Linked DNA regions of Homo sapiens: all the other regions are linked to region 2. The links are contacts of gene promoters, found by promoter capture Hi-C in blood cells and fetal thymus (Javierre and others, 2016). All regions are on one chromosome and are shown on one strand. Each heading gives the region's core, a stretch centred on a gene start or on the middle of the fragment in contact. The rest is flanking DNA. Distances are from core to core; before and after follow the strand shown.

What was found. Contacts are between HindIII fragments. The CHiCAGO score rates a contact against its expected background, and 5 or more counts as called.
Region 1: a fragment that was not itself captured here is called in contact with the fragment with the promoter of DOCK11 in region 2 in 1 of 17 cell types (activated CD4 T cells); the score reaches 5.6 in activated CD4 T cells.
Region 3: a contact is called between a fragment that was not itself captured here and the fragment with the promoter of DOCK11 in region 2, in 1 of 17 cell types (monocytes). The highest score is 7.0, in monocytes.

Annotation. Positions count from the first base shown.
Region 1 is chrX:119,239,059-119,242,807 of GRCh38, forward strand. PGRMC1 (progesterone receptor membrane component 1) reads left to right here. Exons shown (of 3, transcript NM_006667.5): 2 at 1,251-1,406. Among named protein-coding and RNA genes, the nearest start is that of PGRMC1, 4.6 kb to the left of the region's middle. The HindIII fragment of the contact is 6,368 bases long and covers 1-3,749 here.
Region 2 is chrX:118,493,908-118,498,127 of GRCh38, forward strand. It overlaps DOCK11 (dedicator of cytokinesis 11), which reads left to right and starts at 1,908. Exons shown (of 53, transcript NM_144658.4): 1 at 1,908-2,166. The coding sequence starts at 2,065. RefSeq lists enhancers at 1,246-1,315, 1,718-2,696 and silencers at 1,726-1,865, 1,976-2,055, 2,146-2,205, 2,376-2,435. The HindIII fragment of the contact is 5,195 bases long and covers 1-4,220 here.
Region 3 is chrX:119,018,699-119,022,905 of GRCh38, forward strand. No RefSeq gene overlaps it. Among named protein-coding and RNA genes, the nearest start is that of LONRF3, 46 kb to the left of the region's middle. The HindIII fragment of the contact is 1,293 bases long and covers 1,160-2,452 here.

The DNA of each region.
Region 1 (3,749 bases), core at 427-2,926, 740 kb after region 2:
TATGAGGTTTGCTTGGTAAAGACTCACTCTACCAAGCCAATGACCATAATTTCTGAAATGGTAAGGTTCAAACCATTGCATTTGCCTATTCTCAAGCACTAGGTGCTGCCATTTCCACTAGGGGTGTACATTTATGAAAAATGTGGGCTTTTTTTTACCTTCTTTAGTGAATGTGGCAGCATGTAATGATGATTAAAAATAAGCATTTTTCTTTGGAATTTTACTTGCATTTAAAAGTTGTAAAATTTGTAAAAAATTTCTGAGTGTATTGAGGTTTCAGGTGAACAGGCCATATTGAAACTTGATCTATTCTCATACTTGGTTCCCTACAAACATTTTAATGTCAGGGCTGCTATTCAATCTGCCTTGGGGGAAACAACACATTGTTTAAAGTACACTGGATTCTCTTCATTTAGTTGTGCAATATTTAAATAAGTCTAAATATCCACTTTGTGTACCCACAGAATGATTCTCTGCTCTCTTAGACAAAAGTTCAGTATAATATCACAAATAATCACATTTTATAGAGTTGTTTTATAGAGTTGTTTTGCAGTATTGATTCAGCCTCTTTTCCATGAAAATTTTAGTATTTTCACAGTCTTCTCAAGCCCACCAAAAAACAGATAATGAAGACTGATCTCTGTGTTATCTATTTATTGACAGTGAAGGTTATGTAATGTGGATAGATTTTTAAACCACCGATACTGTTATAAAATGGTTCTTCTGCAGATGCCATGAGTTAATGTTTAATTGAGCCTTGGAACCAAAGATCTCTATAAGATACCTTTGTTTCATTAAAACATATCAGAATATATTCATAAGGAAATGTGTTTTCATGTACACATCAGTGCTTATTATCTTAAGAAACCATAACTCTCACTGGTGTAGCCCCAAGTGCCTAGAACTGTCAGGCTCCCAGTTCAATGTTCTTGTATGATTCCCTACTACCACTACCCCAAGAGATCACTAACCACGTATGACTTTTTTACTAGCTATTTGGAAACCACAGGAGACTGACGCAAATGTATAGCAGTTTGATTTACTTTTAGTTATTTAAAAGTTAAATGACAACAGGTCTTTCTGTGTCTCCTACATAATGTTCAGAATATCAGCATTACTATGGTTTCCTAATGGAATTTGATATTCAAAAATGGGGCTATGTTGATGAATAGGGAAGCCATTTTCTGTGTATAAATCACAGAGAAATTGACTGTCTAATAAAGAATTGATCTTTGGTTTTGTTTTTGAAGAGGGGCCGTATGGGGTCTTTGCTGGAAGAGATGCATCCAGGGGCCTTGCCACATTTTGCCTGGATAAGGAAGCACTGAAGGATGAGTACGATGACCTTTCTGACCTCACTGCTGCCCAGCAGGAGACTCTGAGTGACTGGGAGTCTCAGTTCACTTGTAAGCATTTTTAAAATTGTGTCTGGGTCAAATTTCTACCAGTAATGGGGATTCGTGGCAGGACAATAGTTATTACTAAGCAGCCTGAAACTTGGGTGCATTTTGATAGGCTCCTTAATCTTGGACGCATCAAGTTCATGGCTTGAAGTAATTGTAGCAGTGCTGAGTCACTTGCTATGATTGCATACCAATTTTTAGCCAGTTCTCTATGGAAACTTGGGTTTCTGGTTTTGATTTTAAAATTTTTGAGAGATTTGCTAGATTCCAAATGAGGATTTGGTGCTTGGTGTGTCAGGGAAAGGACAGTGTCCATCTTGGCTACAGAAAGGGATTTTCATAAGCCCTCTCTTGTAGAGCTTGCCGTTTAAAAGCAGCCCACATCTCTGTTGAAGAATGGGAGACTTGTATTCTGTGAAACAGCTTCTCTTTGAATCTAATTGAACCTAACTATAGGCCTCATCTACAAATGATGCTTATAATGTGCCCAGCAGCAATGGTGTCTGCATTTTTAAAAAGAAAGTAAAAAGGAGATGCTTGTTTCTGGCTTATGCTATGGGCTGAGGTCTTTGGGGAGAAATAGGAATGAGGGGTTAAGTTCAGATTTTGAGAATTCAGGAATTGGTTTCTGTCAAATCTAACTGTTTAATTGTCACTCTAGCAATATTTCACTGCCAAGAATTTGAATAAGAGTCTTTCCCAGCTTTTATGAAACAGTATATAAAGACCATGAGCATTATTTGAAGATTTTTCATTTAAAATGTAGTTTTCTATGTGTGTTCTCTATAATCAGTTAAATATTACATGTTCTCTTGGCTATATCCAACCATTTTCTTTGAAAATAATGCTGACTTCAGAGAGAGTTCTGGATTAATAATTAGCCAGATGTGTCTCTGCCTTTGAGTTTTGGTCTCAAGCAGGCTACATATAACTTCCAAGTCTAGAGGCAAGTTTTTATACTTTGGAAAACATAGTTCAGTTACCTAATAGAGTCCCTAATTTTTGGCATCATAAGGATGCCTTTGTAATTAGTTTTCTATATGAAACCAGTGAATTGTAGTGTCTAACTTACAAAGCTCTATTTTCTAGGGCTTGCCTTCATCAGTGGGAGAAAAAGTGTGATTTTTTTTTTCCACTTTAAGGCTAGCCCCAGATGCTGTTGTGACACCTCAGCTACACTTAAAGTTGGTGTGGATTCCCCTTAAGGCAGGTTTCCCAGGAGCCACCTGGCTTTTATTTGTCTCACACAGTTCCAATTGTTCCCAACGGTTATTTCACACAAAAGCAGCTTTAGTTACCTGGTTAGACAGGTTGGTTACTCCTCTAATTCCTACTCATATTCAGGAAGAGGAGACTCTTGGCTTTGGACATTCAGATGATCGACCCTGCATTAGTTTGGCTACAGTGATGAGGTGGTTTGCTGATGCCATCTCTTCTCAAGTCTTTTGCATTCTGGTTTGCACCCTTACATCTGTTTTCTCCAACACCTCCAGTCATCTCCTGGCTCCTTTACCACTTCCTTTAACCACCCATAGGTTTTTCTCTGTGCTGGGAAAAACGTTCTGTCTCTTGCTCTCCTCTTCATCTATGAGACTATTATTCCTTCCTTTCACTGTCAAACAAACTTCTTACAAGTTTTTATTCCTAACCACTACTTCATTTCCTCTCTATACCTTCTTCCTCCCTACAATATGGCTTCTATCCCCACAATTGGATTGAACTCTCTTTCTGAAAGATTTTCAGGGAAACCTTTTTTTTTTTTCTTGCCAATCCTGACTTCACTTGTCCATTCCATGTTTTAGATCTCCTGTCATGTGAGCCTCCAGAATGGCTCCCTCCACAGAGTTCCCATTTTGGTCCATGGGAGCTCCAATTTTCACTTAATTAATTCATGCTTCCAGTTTTCTTTCAAAGTACTTCTCATCTGTCCCTTTCCATTCCCCTGGACACCACCCTGCTCCTGGCGCTGGTTCCTTTGCATCTGGATCTGCACTCTGCCTCTGGATCGCCCTGTTCCCAGTCTCTCCTTACTGAAATCTGCCCTATACACCACATTGATAATATCGTTGTTAAAGCACTATTTTACTGTGTCATTCCTTCGCTTATAAACCTTCAGTGCCCTTTGCCACCTATAAGTCCAAACTCAGGCTGGCTTTTCAGATCTTTCATAATATTTCCCCACACTACTTAGCCAATCTTATCTCCTACTAACTTCTAAATGTTAACTCTACTCCTGCCAACTTGGTCTCTTCATTGCTTCCCAGATACGTTGTCTCACCTGTATGCATTTGTACATGGCGTTTGCATTTTCTGGAACTCCCTCCCTAAATCCTTCTATACATTTTT
Region 2 (4,220 bases), core at 658-3,157:
ACATCCCTCTCAGGAAGAAAGTGGGGCCTGGGCCTCTCTCCTTTTTTTTTCATCAAGGTAGAAAAACTTTCCCAGGAACCCTCCTCTCACACTTCCCTCTTATATCTTATTGGCCCAAACCGATTGGGAGTCTAGACCATCCCACTAGTCAATAAGAGGGAGCTTATCATGGTTTTTTCATCAGTCATGATTCATCACCTGGAGTTGGGCCTGCCTTCCTTAAACCCTGTGGCTCTGCCCTATATCTGAAGTAAATCTGGGCTCTCTTTGCAAGCAAAAAGTGTTATAGCTATTGTGGTGGTAACCAACAGCATGAGCCACACAGGCATTTATGGAACAGAGGGTATGAATTCTTGGAGATCAGCCTACACGCAACAATTAACAAATTTTACACGTACTGTGCAAAACTAAGATTTGTGACAGAATGTCTTTAGAGGACTTCCAGGTCCCAGGCCCTCTAGGAGCCTCCATATATGCTTTATTGAGACTGATGGGATGGCTGAAATAGGCTTACTGCGAAGAGACTTGGCCTTTTCTGGGTTCAAAGAAACCATCACCACGCATGCCCTTGTTTCCATAATAAAGTCCCCTAAAAGACTGTTTGGTCTTTGAGGGTGGGGAAAGTGCCCGATGGGTGGTGGTAGGACTGCTTTCAGAAGGGCTGCTCGGTCCCCCAGACTGAGGGCCATTTTCAAACTCTCAACAAATGAAATAACCAGATAGAAAACTGCCACCATCAGTGGAGCCTTTCACTCTGCACTTCAGGAGGTCTGACAGGGTCACTAGTACTTCAAGATTCCCGTCCCTATTTCTGTCTTAAGCATGTTCGTTTTATACCCTGTTATGAGATGTTCTTTGATTCTTGGAAAAACAATTTCTTGGAAGCTGAAAAGAGTAAGGAGATGAATAGGAAATGGAGAGGTGAGTGCAGGGCACTTGTAAAAGCTACTATAAGATTGGTAAGTCCACCAAACCCAGGGAGATGGCCTTCCTAATGCCCACCCCCACCCCACTCCTGGTGCAGTCAGTGCTGACCTAGGGATCACCTGCCACAGGCTCATCCTAATGCCCACCCCCACCCCACTCCTGGTGCAGTCAGTGCTGACCTAGGGATCACCTGCCACAGGCTCAGGCTCCACCACCCAGCTCTCCCCCGTGGGGGACGGAGCGAGGGGTGCCGCCACAATAAGTTCCCACTTCCAGAAGCATGCTCTCTCCCCAGTGTTGCCCCCTGTTAGGTGAGCCAACTGAGTAGGAAAACGGTGTGGGCGAGGAGGGGGACCCAGTCGAGCCGCTCACGCTGGAAAGCAGCTCTCTGTCCTTCGACATTGGTGCGACCCTTCCCCAAGGAGCACACAAAAGGCGGCTGCTCCACGTTGTTTTCCAGCCCCTAGCCGCCTGGGCCCTGGGGGCTTGCGGGGTGGAGGGACGTGAGAGTTCTCCAGCCCTCCTGCGGGCACTGCAGCTCGGAGGCGGGAGAGGAGCACTAGGGCGGGAGAGGAGCACGCCCCACTCTTGGAGACATTTCATCACCCCTCTCTGTTCCCCCACCCCACCCCGCCCTCCCCACTCAAGCGGAAAAAAAGAAGCAGCCCAGATCTCCCCTCCCGGATGCGGCTGCACCAGCAACATCAGCTGCGGGCGGAGCCCGAGCGGTAGCCACTTCCCCCCTCTTCCCTCGTGACCCTCGCCCCCACCTCCAGTTCTCCCTCCCCCTCTACACACCCTTCCCCATCAGACACACCCTCCTGCTTCGGCTGGTGGCGATCGGAGCTCGGGCCCTCTAGGGGAGGGAGCTGCCGCCGCCGACGCCGTGGGGCAGGACAGTGAGCGGGCGAAGCGAGCGAGAAAAGGAGGGAAGGAGGGAACGAGGGAGGAGCAGCGGGTGGGAGGTGGGAGGGAGGAGCAGCGTGAGCCGCGCCGCCGCCGAGCTGCGATGTGGCCGGCCGGCCGGCGAGTAAACAGAGGGAGCAGCAGCGGCCGCGGCCGCCGCGGGCCGGGGCAGTGAGTCCACCCGCCCGCCGAGGTCCGCCCGCCCGCCGAGACCCGCCCGCCGCCGCTGCCATGGCCGAAGTGCGCAAATTCACCAAACGGCTCAGCAAGCCTGGCACGGCGGCTGAGCTCCGGCAGAGCGTGTCTGAGGCCGTGCGGGGCTCCGTGGTGCTGGTGAGTGGCCGGGGGACGGGGCATCCCGGGGGACGCGCTCCAGGCGGGAGCGACGCGGGAAGGGGCAGGAACGGCGCCAGTGCGGCCGCTTGGTGCGCCGCGCGCTGTCTTTCTCCGCTCCAGTAAGTTTTCGCACCGGCAGCCGCCGGCCGGGGTCCGAGTCCCAGGCGCCGGCTGACAGCTCTCCGGCCGCCCGGCACGGCGGAGGCGTGCGCCGGGATGGAAGCAGACGGGCAAAAGCCGGGCTCGGACGGCTGCGGAGGAGGCGGAGGCGGAGGCTCCCACCCAGGGTCGGGGCCGGGGGTGTGAGCTAAAGAGCTGACCTCGCGCTGCTCTGGACTCGGCACAAAGAGCCGGGGACAAGGGCACGACGAGATCCTGATCCCCTCCCGCGAGCACCTGAGGCCGCCTAGGCGGAAGGATGCGATGAGCGTTTGGCACACACACTCTCGCGCGCACACATACACACACTGTGTACACAAAAAAGAACCCCACCCAGAAAGCCCCGGGCGCCCAAGCTCGGGCTGGCGGTGAGAACAGAGGAAGCAGAGCGACTTCCTCCTGCAACTGGGGAGAGAGGGTGGTGATGGGTGTTGAAGGGGTGCTGCTGCGGAGGAAGGGCATTAGAAACAACGGGGTTCTGCGACAGAGTGGGCGCAGGGTCATCCACCGCAGGGAGAGTGTGTCCCTCGGGGACACGCGAGCGCTCCAGAGGCAAGGGGACCAAGGGGACGGTGCCGTGGGGATTTGGGGGAAGACTGGGTGTGTCAGTCCAGGGATGGAGGACCTGGGGTCAGAGCCCCACAGCTCAGGACTGGGGGATGGGGATTCGAAAGCGCGCTGACTCCCTGGGAACCCTCCCAGAGCACCCTCAGCCTTATCCAGATTGTCTGACTCTGGAGAAAGGCTAAAGGGTGCTAACGGGCACTTGCCCCTTCTCTTGTTTTCAAGACACTCGTTGCCAGTTTCCTGGACAAGCGAACAAACCCTGAATAAGCAATCGGACTGATTAATTAGTGTTTGTTTTGTTACTTTGTTTTTTGGTTGTTGTTTTTGTTTGTTTTTGTCTCCCTCAGCTCCATTTTACAGCGAGTCGTTTGCTGTGTTTAAATTTCACCGTTTAAGAGAGGGCTCTTTTTGTTAAAACAACTTGTCATCGGAAGGGAACTTCACAGCTTTTCCTTGTAATTTTTCTGTTGATCTTGTAGAATCAGCAATAAAACCCAGCATTAAAGGGAGGCCAGGGGCTTGATCCCAACAGTGGAGAAAGTTGACATTAGTGGGAGTTCTGGAGGAGGATCAAAGGTAAACTATGTACCTTTGAGATAAAGATCTGATCCCTAATAGCTACAACTGTGCAAACCTAAGTGACTTTAAAGAAATCTCTTTATTGTGGCTAGACCCTTGAAAGTTTAATTCTGCTGTTTAGTGGAGCTAAATCCAGACCTTTAATGTTACTTTAATGGACTTGGCTTGTGTATTTCAGTCTGATTTTGGAGTGAGGACCTGTTGAGGTCAGATTGGAGCCTTGCCTGTCATCACAGCCAGTTAAGAGAGGAAGGCAAGCTGTGTGCAGAGCATTTATACCAGGGCTCTCATCTTGGGTGATTGTTAACACGTGATTCAATCTACCTAGCAGAGAACGCTTTCCTAAATTCAGAGAAAACAAAAAACCTTCCTTGAGCGGGGTTGGCTGGCCTTCTACCACAACACGTGAAGAAAGCTGTAGGTGGCCAGATTTCTCGAGAATAAATGGGACTAAGAAAACTTCCACTGGGATTTGATCAGCACTTGACCTGCCACCCTAGCAGCAAAAAGTTAACATTAGCATTCTTTCCCCTGTTTTTAGGTTTTCAAAAGAATTTTGTGCATTGTAGGTTCAGCGGCTCCTTCCTGACCATTGATTCTATGGCGAAGGAGGAAAAACTGTTATTGGCAGGAGTCTTTTCTAGGAGACGCTGGCAGTGGCCATGGTTCCCTTGTCAGCCCAGCTTACTTGGGACCAAGGTCATTGATTTTTACCGTTTACACCAGGCAATGCAGAGGAATATTTA
Region 3 (4,207 bases), core at 556-3,055, 520 kb after region 2:
AGTCATGCCCAACTAGCCTCCATAACCCACCTCTCCCCGGGGTTCTGAGGATCAAGACCTGGACAGAAACACTTGATAAGGACTTTTTATTATTAAAATGTAAATAAGACAAATAGAGTAGAACCCTATAAAAATCTTTTTAAAGGAACCAGATGGCCGGGCACGGTGGCTCACGCCTGTAATCCCAGCACTTTGGGAGGCCGAGGCAGGCGGATCACTTGAGGTCAGGAGTTCGAGAGCAGCCTAACTAACATGATGAAACCCTGTCTCTACTAAAAATGGATACAAAATTAGCCAGGCTTGGTGGTGTATGCCTGTAATCCCAGCTACTTGGGAGGCTGAGGCAGGAGAATCACATGAACCTGGGAGATGGAGGTTGCAGTGAGCCGAGATTGCACCACTGCACTCCAGCCTGGGCAACGAGCAAACCTGCGTCTCAAAAAAAAAAAAAAAAAAAAAAAAAGGGAACCAGATAATCTATTATTTTACCTAAGTACTGCCTTTGCTTCTAGTTGCATGGGTGAAATATTTCAATGTATGGGGAGAATATAGGGTGAGGAGTAAGAGTAAGCCCTGATTTAGCTTGCTTAGTGCTAGTTTGAGTCCTTCAGTGGCAGGACAGCCTGTAAAGTACCACAAGTATGGGAGTGTTATAATGGCAGAGTGAAACGATTAGAGCAGGGAGGAAGTGAATTGTGCCATTAGTACCTTCATGCAAATTATACCATGTGATTTTGGACAGTGAATGATTTTTGCATCATTCATTCACAGCCCATCACTCTGTTAAGGTGAGAGTGTAATTCTTACTTCTCCCATCACCACCTGTAGCTAGAAACAGGAAAGGGAGAATGAGATGATCCAGACAACATAAAAAAGATGCATGTAAGCAGAAACCAGATGGTCTTTTCTGCACTCACTTAATGGACATTATGTTGCCAGAGTGTTGTGTTTATCAGATTTGATGTTTGGAGCTAGTCTGGGCAGGTGAAGAACAGAAATAGGCGGAAGTATAGGCATTATTTCTGCGCAAGCAAACTCCACAAAGCTCAGGGAGCAGAAAAGACTCCCCCTCCCACCTGGTTCCCAGACCATGTGGTCATAACACAATCCTAATAGTTTCTGGTTATCTAGTGTAAATGCAACAAAGAAAAAGGCCCTAAGCTTCTCTACTTATTAGATATATTATTTTTGGCAATTGATTTAACTTTTGCCAACCCTCAGTTTTCTAATCTATGAAATGATAGTGATAAGTTCTGCATATAGGGTTGTTACGAAAATTAAATGAGATAATGTGTAAATCAATTAGCACAGTGTCTCACACCTAGAATGCACTCAAGAAATAATAGCTACTATTAGATTAGTCATAGTTATAGAATATCATCAAGGGCCTACATTTGTATAAAACACTGCCTTTACACACAATATCCACTTGAAACCCCTTTAAACTTAGTTGGGGGAATACATACCACTGATTTTTGGACCCATAATTTGATGATTTACAGATAATTCTTTTGGGAATTAAATGTGTGTGAAAGTGAAATAACTGGAGAACAAATGAGGGTCAGAGATAGGGATCAATCCTATACCAGAAATTTTTTTCCTGCTTCAATAAGGGCTAGAAGGTAGTGCCCTATGTAGGTCTAGGATTTCTTTCTTCCTTCCTTCCTTCCTTTCTTTTTCTTTTGTTCCCTCCCTCCCTCCCTCTCTCTCTCTTTCCCTCCCTTCCTTCCTTCCTTTCTTTTTCCTTTCCTTTCCTTTCCTTTCTTTCTTTTGTGTGTGTGTGTGTGTGTGCGAGTCTGAGTCTCACTCTGTCACCCAGGCTGGAGTGCAGTGGCTCGATCTCAGTTCACTGCAACCTCCGCCTCCCAGGTTCAAGTGATTCCCTTGTCTCAGCCCCCCAAGTAGCTGGGATTACAGGCACGCACCACCACGCCTGGCTAATTTTTGTAGTTTTAGTAGAGATGGGGTTTCACCATGTTGGTCAAGCTAGTCTCGAACTCCTGACCTCAGGTGATCCATCTGCCTGGGCCTCCCAAAGTGCTGGGATTACGGGCGTGGGTGTGAGCCACCGCACCCAGCCTAGGATTTCTGATAGAATGGAAGCCTTAAGTTCTAGCTCCATTAGAATAACCAACTTTTCACTCCCTGTTCTCCAAAATGTATTGAGAACCTTACCCATCCCAGATGATGAGAGTTTACAATCTGTGACTTCTGTTCTTAGTTGATAGTATTTCTTTATGTTGCCCAAAGTAACAGATTCAACAAAAAATGTACTGAGATCCCCATGTACCAGGTACTGAGCCAAGTGATCTCACATACCTGAGCTCATTACATCATTTATTTCTCATACCAACCCTGCGAGAGCAGTTATTATCCCCATATTATGAATGAGAAAACTGAGCCTCCACTATGTTAAATATTTTGTCTAGTTGCAAGGCAGGATGCAAGGCTAAGCTTTGGCTTTCTTTGGGATGTACCTTAACGAGGTAATCAATTGGTCTTGAACATTTTTACACTGGGAAATTGGTTTTGCTGCACAGCTTGGGAATGAAGGGTATACAGAAGAAAGACATAAGGCTAAATCTAGGCCAGAAAAATAAGACTTCCCCCACAGTAGATAGTGCCACTTATTTAGTTAGTTTTTCTGTCTATCATGACTGACCCAGTCTTTGCCTAGTAGGTTATATTTTGTATGTATGTATGTATGTATGTATGTCTTTGTGTGTGTATGTGTGTGTGTGTATGTGTGTGTGTATATATATATATATATATATATATATATATATATATATATACACTAGGTAGCAAGCAGACATCATATCTTTCTGCTTTGTACTGTACTACTGCTGCTAGCAAATAACCAGCAAAATGTAGAAAATGAAAAACCAATTTTCTGTAGACAACCTGGAGAAAAGAGTGCCTGCCCCTGACTTAGCGGGGCAGAGAATGACAATTTTTAAAGTTTGCCTTTTCTGAAGGTTGCTTTTAGCCCAGTGCTGCCTCAGCAGCAAGGGGCAAGCAGAGTCATTGCGCATGTGGCGCTTCCAGCTCTACCTGTGGAGCTGGCCTGGGCTCAGATAATCCCCTGTGACTGGCCATTGGAGCGGCGGAGCTCCTGAGGCTAGTTCACAGCACCCAGAGGTCTCTTACAGTCAACAGATTGCATACTGTTGACAGACTGCAATCCGTCTGTGTTCCCCACACCAACTCCATTTCCAAGATGGGAATTTTATTCAGGAACTCATTTTTGAGTTCCCAACATGTTGACTTCGCATCCATTTCTGCTCACCAAGGCAGAACCATAGCAGTGGTGTGTGACAAAGATGCAAATGGAGGGCAGCCCAAACAATGGAAAAGAGAAGATTTTCAGCCCATTCTTGGGGCTAAGTGAGGTTTTGATTTATGGTAGAAGACAGTTCTAAAAAGCAGCTGGCAGCATGGGCTTCAATTTGTGGCCCTTCTGAGTTCAAACAGAAGGAAGGAAAAGGAGCCACATAAAGTGTACACATTCAATTCATCTTAGAATGATAGCTCCCACCTTATTACACTGTACAACTATTTAATAATCTGGGTTACACACATCCAGAGGTGAAATAAAGAAATTTTCACTTACAAATGTGTATTTCCAAACATGCTAAGTTAACCTCCAGAGAGAAGTGCCTGTAATCTCTGTTCCTGGTGTCACTTTAAAGCTTTTGCTTCATGACTGTAGCTGTTGTTTAAAATGTTTTTGCAGCAAACGCGATTTAACAGAAGTTTACAAAGCAACACTGTAGCTAATGCATAATTTTAAAAGTTGACTAACATTTATCTATTGTTAAAGCAACACTAATAATGGAATAAAAGGAAAGCAAATAGGCCAATGTGGCACCATAGGCTTATTTTAGGTAAATTAGTTCCATCATCTTATGCAGTTGTAAGTAATGCCAGGATTAAAATATCAAGCAAGCCACGTAAACAGTGGCAAATGTGTGTGTGTTTTCCATTTGTTTGGTAAGCAGCCATTTTACTCTTGCACTGTAATGAACTGAAGGGAAATATAAGATAATGCTTTTTTCCCCCCATATTGCTATTCAACTACCTCTATATGCTTGATTTCTTTTTAGGATTCCCATCCTCCAAATCTGTACAAAAACGTTTCAGCTCATCTGTGTTGTAATAACAATGTGATACAGACAGTTTGTGTGAAAGTTGTTTGTTCATTAAA